Regions from separate parts of the Homo sapiens genome. Here all the other regions are linked to region 2. The links are contacts of gene promoters, found by promoter capture Hi-C in blood cells and fetal thymus (Javierre and others, 2016). All regions are on one chromosome and are shown on one strand. The core of a region is centred on a gene start or on the middle of the fragment in contact, and the rest is flanking DNA. Distances in the headings are between cores, read along the strand shown. Region 1 holds the start of DNASE2 (deoxyribonuclease 2, lysosomal). Region 2 overlaps FBXW9 (F-box and WD repeat domain containing 9). Region 3 holds the start of SYCE2 (synaptonemal complex central element protein 2).

The links. Contacts are between HindIII fragments. The CHiCAGO score rates a contact against its expected background, and 5 or more counts as called.
Region 1: the fragment with the promoter of DNASE2 here is called in contact with a fragment that was not itself captured in region 2 in 4 of 17 cell types (erythroblasts, activated CD4 T cells, M1 macrophages and 1 more); the score reaches 6.3 in erythroblasts.
Region 3: a contact is called between the fragment with the promoter of SYCE2 here and a fragment that was not itself captured in region 2, in 3 of 17 cell types (neutrophils, M1 macrophages and naive CD8 T cells). The highest score is 5.6, in neutrophils.

The regions. Positions count from the first base shown.
Region 1 is chr19:12,879,446-12,884,377 of GRCh38, reverse strand. It overlaps DNASE2 (deoxyribonuclease 2, lysosomal), which reads left to right and starts at 2,929. Exons shown (of 6, transcript NM_001375.3): 1 at 2,929-3,088; 2 at 3,226-3,406; 3 at 3,498-3,576. The coding sequence starts at 3,003. RefSeq lists enhancers at 316-577, 3,002-3,111, 2,771-3,398 and cis regulatory regions at 247-767, 1,307-1,807, 2,547-3,107. The HindIII fragment of the contact is 8,211 bases long and covers 1-4,932 here.
Region 2 is chr19:12,691,678-12,696,175 of GRCh38, reverse strand. It overlaps FBXW9 (F-box and WD repeat domain containing 9), which reads left to right. Exons shown (of 10, transcript NM_032301.3): 1 at 1-3; 2 at 1,238-1,377; 3 at 1,454-1,582. Among named protein-coding and RNA genes, the nearest start is that of FBXW9, 2.7 kb to the left of the region's middle. The HindIII fragment of the contact is 4,543 bases long and covers 641-4,498 here.
Region 3 is chr19:12,917,153-12,921,806 of GRCh38, reverse strand. It overlaps SYCE2 (synaptonemal complex central element protein 2), which reads left to right and starts at 2,514. Exons shown (of 6, transcript NM_001105578.2): 1 at 2,514-2,564; 2 at 3,470-3,585. The coding sequence starts at 2,550. It overlaps MIR5695 (microRNA 5695), which reads right to left and starts at 1,487; the gene lies at 1,403-1,487. RefSeq lists an enhancer at 2,695-2,834. The HindIII fragment of the contact is 4,677 bases long and covers 725-4,654 here.

The DNA of each region.
Region 1 (4,932 bases), core at 1,680-4,179, 190 kb before region 2:
TGGCAGGAGGCTGTAAACCTAGAGGTCATATTAGAGGGCCTTACACACCCTCATCTCCTAAACTACAGTGACACCCCTCAACTCCAACAAGCCCCCTTGGGCACTGGAGGCCTTGCTGTCCTCTCTTTTCCCACCCAGTTCAGGCTACACTGTCCTTGTCTTCTGCCTTGAACCCTGCGGACATTGACAGCAAACATCTCCCTGGATTTAAGAGTTCACAGCCTATGACTGCCCAGGGGGTTCATCTTGCCCACTGTCCAGATAGAGCCAATTTATCGAGACAGAGGGATTGCAATAGAGAGAGTTTAATCCACATACATCCAGCTAAATGGGAGATGGGAGTTTTATTACTTGAATCAGCCTCCCTGAAAATTCAGAGGCTAGGGTTATTCAAGAACAGTTTGGTGGGCAGGAGGGCTAGGGAATGGGTGCCTTGCTGCAATCCTGGAGCTGTGGAAAACAGTTGCTGAGTCAGCTTCTGGGTGGGGACCATAGAGTCGCTAGTCTGGGTGGAGTCATCCAGTTGTCAGATATGCAAAAAGCCTAAAAAGACATCTAAAAAGGCCAGCGTTAGGTTTTGCAATAGTCATGTTATTTGCAGAAATAACTGGGGAAGTTGCAAACCTTGTGACCTCCAGAATAATGGCTGGCCATCTTTGTTTTTGTTTTTGAGATGGAGTCTTGCTCTTGCCCAGGCTGGAGTGCAGTTGTTCCATCTTGGCTCACTGCAACCTCTGCCTCCTGGGTTCAAGTGATTCTCCTGTGTCAGCCTACCAGGTAGCTAGGATTACAGGCACATGCCACCATGCCGGGCTAATTTTTGTATTTTTAGAAGAGATGGGGTTTCGAAATGCTGGCCAGGCTGGTTTCGAAATCCTGACCTCAGGTAATCTGCCAGCCTCGGCCTCTCAAAGTGCTGGGATTACAGGCGTGAGGCACCGCACCCGGCCGGAAAAATGGCTGGTCATAATTTAACTACTACACCTACAGTTTAGCAGAATTCAGGCTCCTCTCATCCTCCTAACCTAGTGCCCTTTCATTATTTCTACAAAGGCAGTTTAGTTTGGGGAAGGGCTATTATCATTTAAGCTATAAACTAAATTCCTCCCAAAATTAGCTTGGGGCCAGGCATGGTGGCTCCCTCTTTAATCCCAGCAATTTGGCAGGCTGAGGCGGGCAGATCACTTGAGCCCAGGAGTTCGACACCAGCCTGAGCCCCAAGGTGAAACCCCATCTCTACCAAAAATGGTGAAACCCAGTCTCTACCAAAAATACAAAAATTAGCTGGGCATGTGGCGCATGCCTGTAATCCCAGCTACTCAGGAAGCTGAGGCAGGAGGATTGCTTGAACCTAGGAGGCGGATGTTGCAGTGAGCTGAGATCACACCACTGGACTCCAGCCTGGGCGACAGAGTGAGACAACGTGTCAAAAAAAAAAAAAAAGTTAGCTTGACCCCACTCCAGGAATGACCAAGCAAGGGCAGTTTGGAGATTAAAGGCAAGATGGAGTTGGTTAGGTCAGAGCTCTTTCACTGACATAATTTTCTGTCATAATTTTTGCAAAGGCAGTTTCAAGCCAGTACTCAGATTCCCATAGCCCTTTGCCCTGCCATGATCCTTTGAGGCTGAGGTGGGAGAATCACTTGAACCCCGGAGTTCCAGAGCAGCCTGGGCAACATAGTGAGACCCTCATCTCTGCAATGAACAATTATCTGGGTGTGGTGGCACAGGCCTGTAGTACCAGCTACCTGGGAAGATCTCTTGAGCCCAGTAGGTTGAGGCTGCAGTGAACTGTGATGGAGTCACTGCATTCTAGCCTGGGTGAGAAACCATTATCCTGTCTCAAAACGACAAAAAACAAACATACAGTCACCTCTTTGCTAGCTCAGGGGATCCTGGAGAAAACGTGCAGAATGAAAAAGGAGAGTCTGGGTGGCGTGGATTACATGCCTGTAATCCCAGCACTTTGGGAGGCAAGACAGGTGGATCCCTTGAGCTCAGGAGTTCAGCCTGAGCCACATGGTGAAACCGTGTTTCAAAAAAAAAACTACAAAAATTAGCTGGGCATAGTGGCATGTGCCCGTGATCCCAGCTACTCGGGAGGCTGAGGTGAGAGGATCACTTGAGCTGGGGAGGCAGAGGTTGCAGTGAGCCAAGATTGCGCCACTGCACTCCGGCCTGGGCAACAGAGCGAGATATTGTCCGGGAAAAAAAAAAAAAAAAAAGGAAGGAAAAAAAAAAAGAAAGAAAAAGGGGAAGATACACTGGAACACAAATGCTTCTTAAGGGGCGCAGTGGCTCACTTCTGCAATCTTGGCACTTTCGGGGGCCGAGGCTGGTGGATCACGAGGTCAGGAGTTCGAGACCAGCCTAGTCAACATGGAAAAACCCCGTCTCTACTAAAACTACAAAAATTAGCCGGGCGTGGTGTCGGGCGCCTGTAATCCCAGCTACTCGGGAGGCTGAGGCAGGATAATCGCTTTAATCAGGAAGGCGGAGGTTGCAGTGAACCGAGATCGTGCCATTGCACTCCAGCCTGGGCGACAAGAGTGAAACTCCGTCTCAAAAAAAAAAAAAAAAAAAAAAAAAAAAAAAGAGGAAGAACAAAGGTCCCAAGAGTTGGACCCAGGTTGTAGGGCTGGAATAAAAAATAAAATACAAACTTGTGCCTGATCCAGAAACCCGGGCGGGAGTTGGGTCAGACAGAAGAGCGTGGGCTGGGATTAGCTACCACGAAAAGGAACGGTGGCCAGGCTCCAGGAGACGCTGGAGCGCCGGGCCCGTCGTGGGCGTGGTCTGGGCAGACTCAGCGTTGCCTTTTGCCTCTCCAAAACGCAGCATCGCGTCTCGGGGGAGGAGTCTGTACCCTCGTGATGTCCCCGCCCCGGTTCCCAGGCAAGTTTAGGGAAGTGAAAGGCGCCAGGTGCCAGTCCTGGCCTCTGATGTAACCCAGCGCCCCGCAGTCCCGACACAGATTCCTGGATCTCAGCCCCATAGCAGCTATGATCCCGCTGCTGCTGGCAGCGCTGCTGTGCGTCCCCGCCGGGGCCCTGACCTGCTACGGGGACTCCGGGCAGCCTGTAGACTGGTGAGTGCGCAGCGGGGGGCCTACCATCGCCCCGGGGTCCGGCTGCGGTCACTCAACCGGGATGGCTACCTCCTCGGGGAACCCTGGGGTGCCTTCTCTTCCCTCTCTCCTATTTCTGTGCATTCTCCGACCTCCAGGTTCGTGGTCTACAAGCTGCCAGCTCTTAGAGGGTCCGGGGAGGCGGCGCAGAGAGGGCTGCAGTACAAGTATCTGGACGAGAGCTCCGGAGGCTGGCGGGACGGCAGGGCACTCATCAACAGCCCGGAGGGGGCCGTGGGCCGAAGCCTGCAGCCGCTGTACCGGAGCAACACCAGCCAGGTGAAGGGGGCCCCGGGCCAACTAGGGGCGAAACTCTAGGGCTGCCCTGCCTGGGAGGAATTTCACGTTGCCTCCGTTTATCCGCCCGCAGCTCGCCTTCCTGCTCTACAATGACCAACCGCCTCAACCCAGCAAGGCTCAGGACTCTTCCATGCGTGGGCACACGAAGGGTGAGGCCTGGATTGGGGGCTGGGGAGAGACTCGGGTCCCATTTTTCCAAGGTAACCCCTGACGTGCATGGGGTGGTCGGGGAGATCTGCACTGTCAGACCCTGGGCATCTATTCCCCCCAACTTTTTTTTTTCTTTGTTTTTGAGACGGTGGGAGTTCGCTCTGTCACCCAAGCTGGAGTGCAGTGGCACAATCTTGGCTCACTGCAATCTCTGCCTCTGGGGTTGAAGCAATTCTCCTGTCTCAGCCTCCCAAGTAGCTGGTATTAAAGGCGCACCATCACACCAGGCTAATTTTCATATTTTTAGTACAGACGAGGTTTCACCATGTTGGCCAGGCTGGTCTCGAACTCCTGGTTTCTACCTCAAGTGATCTACCCGCCTTGGCCTCCCAAAGTGCTGGGATTACAGGAATGAGCCACCCTGCCCAGCCGAGTTCCTATGCATTTTTCCAAGCTAACCCCTGACCTCCATAGTGGGGTGGGAGATCTCCCCTGTCAGACCTTGGGCATCTATTTCCCCTATTTTATTTTCTTTTAGACAAGGTCTCACCCAGTCACCTAGGCTGGAGTGCAGTATCACAGCTCACTGCAGCCTTGACCTCCCAGGGCTCAGGTGATCCTCCTACCTCAGCCTCCCAAGTACTGGGCCTGCCGGTACCCCCCACCACGCCTGGCTTTTTTTTTTTTTTTTTTTTTTTGCGGCACTCTCTCTCCATCACCCAGGCTGGAGTTCGGTGGTGCAATCTCAGCTCACTGCAATCTCCATCTCCCCAGTTCAAGCGATTCTTCTGCCTCAGCCTCTGGAGTAGCTGGGATTACAGGTGTGCGCCACCATGCCCAGCTAAATGTTGTATGTTTTAGTAGAGATGGGGTTTTACCAGGTTGGACAGGCTGATATTGAACTCCTGACCTCAGGTGATCCACCTGCCTTGGCCTCCCAAAGTGCTGGGATTACAGGCGTGAGCCACCACACCTGGCCTACTTTTTGTATTTTTGTAGAGTGGGCTTTTGCCATGTTGCCTAGGCTGGTCTCTAAGTCCTGGTTCAAGCAATCCACCCACCTTGGCCTCTTAATGTGCTGCGATTACCGGCATGAGCCGCCACACCTGGCCTGTTTCCCTACCTTACATTACTCTTGGCGTTATTCTGGACTATAAGAATTTATGCCTGCAAAAACTGAGCTCAGCTGTGGTTCTAACACTGCTGGCACCCTCTCTAAGCCCCGCTGCAAACTGAGGGTGTTCCTGATTGCAGATGAGCTTGCTGGGAGGCCTGGAGCAATACCCTCTAATTGCCTTTTTTTTTTTTTTTTTTTTGAGAAGGAGTTTTGCTCTTGCTACCCAGGCTGGAGTGCA
Region 2 (4,498 bases), core at 1,663-4,162:
AAGGTGCGCGGGGCCGGGGGCCGGGGACCGGGGGCCGGGGGCGCCCGCCCAGGTCAGGCTTGGGGCGGGGAAGAGGTACATGGGGTGTTCCGGATGCAGCCTCTGGTGCAGGCTTCGTGGCTGTCCTGGCTCAGGCTGGAGGCTAAGGTAGTTACTGGTGGTGCCGAAGCCCCTGAGGACCTCTGGGTGGACCACGAGGCAGTCAGGCACTTGGGGTCCTGAGGCTGTGAAACCCTAACATGGGGCTGTGGTTCCTGGACGACTCAGGATCCAAATATCCTCAGTCTTGGGGTCTTGTGGTACTAAGCCACTGACCCCTGATTGGGGATTGACACAGGGACTTGAAGTCTTAGGCTCTGGAGTTTATGCTGGGGCTCAAAGTGAGCCCAAGGATCCTCAGGTTCTGAGTCCAGCTTAGAAGCTGAGACAGCACCTGTTGATGTCAAAACTCCTGAGCCCTAGAGCCTTGACCCAGTTAGGGGTGAGACAGTGGCTCTTGGCCCTGAGTTGATTGGTTCCTGAGGGAAGACAGCTTGGGACCTTTGAATCGATATTGTTGATCCTGATACAGCTGGATCCTCAGGCCCTTAAGCCAAGATGTATTACAGCTTGGGTGTTTGATACCCTTAACCTGGAAGCTTTGATTCTGCTTAGAGAGGAATCAGGATCACTCCGGGATCAGTGATTCTCAAGGTGTTGCCATCCAACCCCCAGGTCAGACTCTCCCAAACAGCTTAATAAACATAGATGCTTGGACCCCGTCCATATCACAGAATCTGCATCTGGGGCTTGCATTCTGCATCTTGACAAGGCTCCCTGGTTTCCAGATACTGTTTGAGAAACAGCCCCCTTGGTCTGGTTCAGATGGCTGAGGCAGGAAGGGTTAGTCATGAGGTCCCAGCTTCTATGCTGAGCCTGAGGTCAGACCTCAACATCCTGAGACTGCTCTGCCCTGAGTTTGGGTTGGGGGATGGCGCCTGGAGAGGTAGTTCTGAGACCCCAGTTCCCAATTTCTGGAAATTGGAGTGAGTAGTCCTAGACCTGCCTGGGAAATGGGCAGGCAGGTGGTCCCAAGACCACAGCCTGGGTCGGCTTGGGGTGGGAGTAGGGATCTCCATGGGGTTCTGTCCAAGTCTGGTGTAGTGTGGGCTCCCTGGAAGCCAGGGTTGGGCTTGGCCAGCTGGCATGGGTGCTAGGGTCCCTGCCCACTGGGCACCCTACTCGTGGTAACCCACAGAGAAGAACTTTGACTGGCCGGCAGCCTGCATTGCGCTGGAGCAGCACCTGTCCCGCTGGGCAGAGGATGGGCGCTGGGTCGAATACTTCTGCCTGGCCGAAGGCCACGTGGCTTCCGTTGACTCAGTGCTGCTGCTCCAGGTGAGACGGGGTCTGTGGGGGGCCAGGCAGGGTGGGCCAGGGTGGCCCTGACAACATCACCTTGCTCCCTTTCCAGGGTGGGTCACTCTGTCTGTCGGGCTCCCGAGATCGCAACGTCAACTTGTGGGACCTGCGGCAGCTGGGGACGGAGTCCAACCAGGTTCTGATCAAGACCTTAGGCACTAAGCGAAATAGTACCCATGAGGTGAGGAGTCAGGTGGGGATAGGAGGTATGAGGCCTGAGTAGGGCATCTTGGTTAAGGCCCCAGGTTTTGGTACAGGACCGCATAGATTTGAATCTGACTTTTCTAACCTTGGTGTGACTTTGAGTGAGATGTGTGACTTCTCTGTGCCTCAGTTTCTACTTCTGTCCAGTGGGTGATTAGGATGAGGATGAAGGAGATGCATTATGCATTAATGTGGACATGCATTAAGCTCAGGCTTTTTTTTTTTTTTTTTTTGAGACGGAGTCTCGTTCTGTCACCCAGGCTGGAGTGTGGCATGATCTCAGCTCACTGCAACCTCTGCTTCCCGGGTTCAAGCGGTTCTCCTGCCTCAGCCTCCTGAGTAGCTGGGACTACAGGTGCATGCCACCACACCTGTCTAATTTTTTTTTTTTTTTTTTGAGATGGAGTCTCACTCTGTTGCTAGGCTGGAGTGTAGTGATGCAATCTCGGCTCACTGCAACCTCTGCCTCCCAGGTTTAAGCAATTCTCCTGCCTCAGCCTCCTGAGTAGCTAGGACCACCATGCCCAGCTAATTTTTTTATTTTTGGTAGAGACAGGGTTTCACCATGTTGGTCAGGATGGTCTCGATCTCCAGACCTCGTGGTCTGCCCGCCTCAGCCTCCCAAAGTGCTGGGATTACAGGCATGAGTCACCTGGCCTTTATTTATTTATATTTTTATTGAGACAGAGTCTCCCTCTGTCACCCAGGCTGGAATGCAATGGCATGATCTCGGCCCACTGCAACCTCTGCCTCCGGGATTCAAGTGATTCTCCTGTCTCAGCCTCCCAAGTAACTGGGATTACAGGTGCCTGCCACCATGCCCAGCTAATTTTTTTTTTTTAATGGAATCTCACTCTGTTGCTCAGGCTATAGTGCAGTGGCACAATCTCAGCTCACTGCAACCTTGCCTCCTGAGTAGCTGGAATTATAGGCATGTGCCACCATGCCCAGCTAATTTCTTTTGTGTGTGTGTGTGTGTGTGTGTGTGTGTGTGTGTGTGTGTGTGTGTATATATATATATATATATATATATATATATATTTTTTTTTTTTTTTTTTTTTTTTTTTTTCCTTTAGTAGAGACGAGGTTTCGCCATGTTGGCCAGGCTGGTCTCAAACTCCTGGCCTCAAGTGATCTGCCTGACTCAGCCTTCCAAAATGCTAGGATTACAGGCATGAGCCACGGTGCCCAGCCAAGCTCAGGCTTTGACACACAGTAGGTGCTCAATAGACGTCAGGTACACCTTGAGAGGCCCAGTGTAAAGCAGTTATGAGACTACCCTTGGAGATCAGCCAACTCTGAGCATGACTGTCATCTCGTGAGAGGTGGCTGTGGAGGAGCATCTCCACCAGTCGCTAAGGTGGTCAGGCCGGTAGCTGAGAGCTTGGGCTTGGGGCCAGGATGCTGGGTTCAAATTCTCACTGTGCTGCTTCCTGGCTGTGTGACCTTGAGTGAGAAACTCAACCTCTCTGGGGCCCAGTTTCCCCATTTGTAAAATGAGATACACAATATTGCCCTCCTCAGCGGGATTGGTGGGCAAAAAGTCAGCATTCAGCACCCTGTGCATATTAGCTCCTGAGGCAAGGGATGTTTTCTGCCCAATTTGCTGATGAATGAACTGAGGGAGGTGATATGGTTTGCCAGGTCACAAAGTAGAGGCCACACTCTTAATCACTTGTCATGTGGCTTCAAACCACCACTGGTGCTGAGTTCTTGCAGAACTTGACTTAGAAATGTTATTGGGCCAGGGTGCAGTTAGTTGCTCAGGCCTGTAATCCTAACACTTTGGGAGGCCGAGGCAGGAGGATTGCTTGAACCCAGGAGTTCGAGACCAGCCTGGGCAACATGGGAGACCCTGACTCTACAAAAAATACCAAATAATTAGCCAGGCGTGGTGCGTGGGCACCTGTAGTCCCAGCGACTCGGGAGGCCGAGGCAGGAGAATGGCATGAACCCGGGAGGCGGAGCTTGCAGTGAGCCGAGATCATGCCACTGCACTCCAGCCTGGGCGACAGAGCGATACTATGTCTCAAAAAAAAAAAAAAGACCGGATGCAGTGGCTCACGCCTGTAATCCCAGCACTTTGGGAGGCTAAGGCAGGCGGATCATCTGAGGTCAGGAGTTCGAGACCAGCCTGACCAACATGGAGAAACCCCGGCTCTACTAAAAATACAAAATTAGCTGGCGCGGTGGCACATGCCTGTAATCCCAGCTACTAGGGAGGCTGAGGCAGGAGAATTGCTTGAACTCGGGAGGCGGAGGTTGTGGTGAGCCGAGATCGTATCATTGCACTCCAGCCTGGGCAACAGGAGCAAAACTCCATCTCAAAAAAAAAAAAAAAAAATTAGCAGAGTGTAGTGGCATGCACCTGTAGTCCCAGCTCTTTGGGAAGCTGTGGTACAAGGATTGCTTGAGCCTGGGATGTGGAGGCTGCAATAAGCCATGATCGCACCACTGCATTCATGCCTGGATGACACAGCAAGACCTTGTCTCAAAAAAAAAAAAAGAGTTCCTGGGCCAGGCACAGTGGCACATGCCTGTAATCCCAGCACTTTGGGAGGCTGAAGCGGGCGGATCACCTAAGGTCAGGAGTTTGAGACCAGCGTGGCCAACATGGTGAAACCCCGTCTCTACTAATAATACAAAAATTAGCCGGGCGTGGTGGCACAAGCGTGTAATCCCAGCTACTAGAGAGGCTGAGGCAGGAGAATCACTTGAACACGGGAGGCAGAGGTTGCAGTGAGCCAAGATCAAGCCACTGCACTCCAGCCTGGATGACAAAAGTGAAACTCCGTCTCCAAAAAAAAAAAGTTTCTGGGTGGGGTGTGCCTTTCCTGGACTCTGAAGTCAGGCTGACCCATGGACACAAACTTTAATCTGTACTCAACTTGAA
Region 3 (4,654 bases), core at 1,265-3,764, 230 kb before region 2:
AAAATTAGGCTGGGCGTGGTGGCTCACGCCTGTAATTCCAACACTTTGGGAAGCTGAGGCAGGCAGATCACTTGAGGTCAGGAGTTCGAGAGCAGCCTGGCCAACGTGGTGAAAACCCGTCTCTACTAAAAATACAAAAAAAAAGCTGGGCGTGGTGGTGAGCACCTGTAGTCCCAGCTACCCGGGAGGCTGAGGCACGAGAATCGTTTGAACCAGGAGGTGGAGGTTGCAGTGAGCCAAGATTGTGCCACTGCACTACAGCCTGGGTGACAGAAGAAGACTCTGTTCCAAAAAAAAAAACAAAAAACAAAAATTAGCAGGCATGATGGCAGGCACCTGTAGTCCCAGCTATCTGGGAGGCTGAGGTGGGAGAATCACTTGAACCCAGGAGGTGGAGGTTGTAGGGAGCTGAGATCACACCACTGCACTCCAGTCTGGGCCACAGAGTGAGACCTGTCCCCCAAAAACAGAAAACAAAAATTAGCTCAGCATAGTGGCTCATGCCTGTAATCCCAGGTACTCCAGAGACTGAGGTTGATCACTTGAGCCTGGGAGGTCGAGGCTGCAATGAGCCGTGATTACACCACTGCACTCCAGCCTGGGCAACAGAGTGAGACCCTGTCGTTAAATACATATTTATGTGTCTAAATAAACACAAGTACCCTGGAATCTTGCCATTTCCATCAAATCTGAACTTTGGCTGTGTAGGGGTGAAGAGAAAGCTTCCTTATTGCCCTCTGAAGTTTCACTAAAAATTACTGAGAAAAGGCAGATTAATAAGAGAAAAGGAATACGAATGTATTTGATCATAGTGTTACCTGACAAGCCTTCAGAATGAAGATCCAGAGATACAGGGGAAACTGTGTTTTTGTTTTGTTTTGTTTTGAGACGGAGTCTGGCTCTGTTCCCTGGGCTGGAGTGTAGGGGCGATCTTGGCTCACAGCAGCCTCAGCTTCCCAAGCAGCTGGGATTACAGGTGCCCGCCACCATGCCTGATTAATGAAAAGTGTCTTATGCTTAGGTTCAGCAAAGTTTGAACACCCAGGTAGAAATTTGATTGGACAAAAAGGGTTTGTCGTGGTTCATACTTGTAATCCTGACACTTTGGGAGGCTGAGGCGGGTGGATCACTTGAGGCCAGGAGTTTGAGACCAGCCTGAGCAACATGGAAAAACCCCATCTCTACTAAAAATACAAAAATTAGCTGGGCATGGTGCATCTGTAATCCCAGCTACTTGGTTGGCTGAGAATCGCTTGAACCTGGGAGGCCAAGGTTGCAGCGAGTTGAGATCTTGCCACTGCACTCCAGTGTTGCCTGGACAACAGAGCAAGACAAAAAAAAAAAAAAAAAAAAAAAGCCGGGGGGGTCGTCTAATACTAATAGGCTGAGTGGGGAAACCCAGCAAGGCCTATCTGTCTAGATTCTTCTTGGAGTCTCAGGAATGCATGCTCAGAGAGGCCAAGAAGAATCTAGATAGATAGGCCTTGTGTGGGGCAGAAACTTCTTTGAAACGGGGGTCTTATGACCTACAGTCAATAGGGTAGATCAGATAATTTCTTCTTTTTTTGAGACAGCACTTTGGGAGACCAAGACGGGAGGACGGCTTGAGCCCAGGAGTTGGGGATCAGCCTGGGCTCAGCACAGTGAGATCTCATTTCTACAGGAAAAAAAAATATAATTATGTGTGTGTGTGTGTGTGTGTGTGTGTGTATATATACATACAATCTTTTTTTTTTTTTTGAGACGGAGCTTTACTCTGTCACCCCGGCTGGAGTGCAGTGGCATGATCTCAGCTCACTGCAACCTCTGCGTCCTGGGTTTAAGCAATTCTCCTGCCCCAGCCTCCCGAGTAGCTGGGACTATAGGCGCCCGCCACCACGCCCGGCTATTTTTTGTATTTTTAGTAGAGACAGTTTCACCATGTTGGCTAGGCTGGTCTCGAACTCATGACCTCAGGTGATCCACCCGCCTCGGCCTCCCAAAGTGCTGGGATTACAGGCGTGAGCCACCGCGCCCGGCCAGAAAAATATTTTTAAATTAGAAGGGCCTGGTGAATGACACTGCTACTCAGGAGGCCGAGGCAGGAGGATCGCTTGAACCTGGGAGGTCGAGGCTACAGTGAGCTGTGATCGCACCACTGCACTCCAGCCTGGGCGACAGACCAAGATCTTGTCTCAAAAAAAAAAAAAAATTGTTATGGAGTATATTTTCCAAGGCAGAGTGGATGAAGTTAGAAGCACCGAATAAATACAGGACTCTGAGATCCGTATAACCTGGGCGCCCCGTGGAACCCAGGAGCCTCACAGGGGCACACAAGCGCACCCAGAGCGCGCCGTCCTGCTCCCAAGGGGCGCCGACTGCGCGCGCAGCCCGCGGACCGCGAAACTGCTGCTTAACGGTCGGCCCCGCCCAGTTGGCCGCGCAAGTTCTCAAAGAGGGCGGGGCCGGGAGCACGCGTCACAACACACTCGTCCGCGGGAGCGCAGCTGGCCAGGGGCGGGGTCGGCGCATGCGCAGAGGGTGCGAGCTTGAAGGCGGGAAAATACGGAATGGAGCGACAGGGAGTACGCGGCGCTTGTTTCCTTCTCGCGCGTGGGGCGGGCGGACAGATAGGCAGGGAACGGCTGCGATCCCAGCCATCTCCAGCGGACCCGAGCCCGGCCGCTTGTCCTTTGCCATTGGGGCTCCCTCTCATCAGGCCTGGCCTCAAATTTCCTGACTGACTGAACCCGGCCCTGACTGACGCACTGACGGGTCTGATTTCCACACATGGCGCGTGGCCGGAACGGAGTAGAGAAAGGCACAAACACCCACGCACCGCACCCGTTTCTTTCATTTCTTTTTTTTTTTTTTTTTGAGACGAAGTATCACTCTGTCGCCCAGTCTGGAGTGCAGTGGCGTGATCTCGGCTCACTGCAACCTCTGCCTCCCGGGTTCAAGTGATTCTCCTTCCTCAGCCTCCCGAGTAGCTGGGATTACAGGCACGCACCACCACGTCAGCTAATTTTTGTATTTTTAGTAGAGACGGGGTTTCACCATATTGCTCAGGCTGTTCTCGCACTCCTGACCTCGTGATCCGCCCGCCTCCGCCTCCCAAAGTGCTGGGATTACAGGCGTGAGCCACCGCGCCCGGCCTCATCTCTTTTCTCCTACCTCTTCTCCTTTCTCGAAGGACTCCAGCCAACACACATACCAGTTAGGAGCCCAGGTCCTCCAGTTACATTCCCACAGCCCTGCCCTCACCCGGCCCCTCTAGGTCTGGTGTCCTGGTGTCCCCTAGGGACAGAGTGTCCTTTCACCCCATGCCCCTGCCCTCATGGCACCTGCCCCAGCCCTGCCCGTCTTTCCTGCGGGTCCCCACCGTCCCGCAGCAGCACATCGAGGTGACCAGGGTTGAAGGGTCGGCAGGAGGGCGATCTGTTCACTCCTCATCCTCCCTCCTTGGCCTCCGTCCTGACTGTGCTTGCAGGTGGACGTGCCCCATGTGAAATGCAAAGACCAGGAACCGCAGCCCTTGGGGGAGAGCAAGGAGCATCCGCGGTGGGAAGAGAACTGCGAGGAGGAAGCTGGTGGAGGGCCAGCTAGGTGAGGAAGATCCCAGCCCTATGGGTCTACACAGGCCCCTGGGTCCCTCTCATTCACCCTTTTCTTCCACAAGGCTATGCCAGTGTCTGCTGCTTTTTTTTTCCCTCCTAACACAGCGTCTTGCTTTGTCACCACGCAGTGGCATGATCACGGCTCACTGCAACCTCCACCTCCCAGACTCAAGTGATCCTCCCACCTCAGCCTCCGAAATGGCTGGGACTAGAGGCGGGCCAGAATGTCGGGCCAATTTATTAAAAAATATTGGCCAGGTGCAGTGGTTCACACCTGTAATCCCAACACTTTGGGAGGCCAAGGCGGGTGGATCACCTAAGGTCGGGAGTTTGAGACCAGCCTGACAAACATGGAGAAACCCCGTCTCTACTAAAAATACAAAATTAGCTGGGCATAGTGGCACATGCCTGTAATCCCAGCTACTCAGGAGGCTGAGGCAGGAGAATCGCTTGAACCCAGGAGGTGGAGGTTGCAGTGAGCTGAGATGGCGCCATTGCACTCCAGCCTGGGCAAAAAGACCGAAACGCTGTCTCAAAAAAAAAAAAAAAAAGCCAGGAATGGTGGCTTATGCCTGTAATCCTAGCACTTTGGGAGGCCGAGGGGGGTGGATCAAAAGGTCAAGAGATGGAGACCATCCTGGCTAACATGATGAAACCCCGTCTCTACTAAAAATACAGAAGTTAGCTGGGTGTTGTGGTGCACGCCTGTAGTCCCAGCTACTCGGGAGGCTAAGGCAGGAGAATCGCTTGAACCCCAGAGGCAGAGGTTGTAGTGAGCCGAGATCATGCCACTGCATGCCAGCCTGGTGACAGAGTGAGACTCCGTCTCAAAAAAAAGAAAAAAGAAAAATTTAGTAGGCCGGGCACGGTGGCTTACGCCTGTAATCCCAGCACTTTGGGAGGCCAAGGCAGGCAGATCATGAGGTCAGGAGTTTGAGACTAGCCTGGCCAATATGGTGAAACCCTGTGTCTACAAAAATTAGCCAGGCATGGTGACAGACACTTGTAATCCCAGCTACTCAGAAGGCTGAGGCAGGAGAATTGCTTTAACCTGGGAG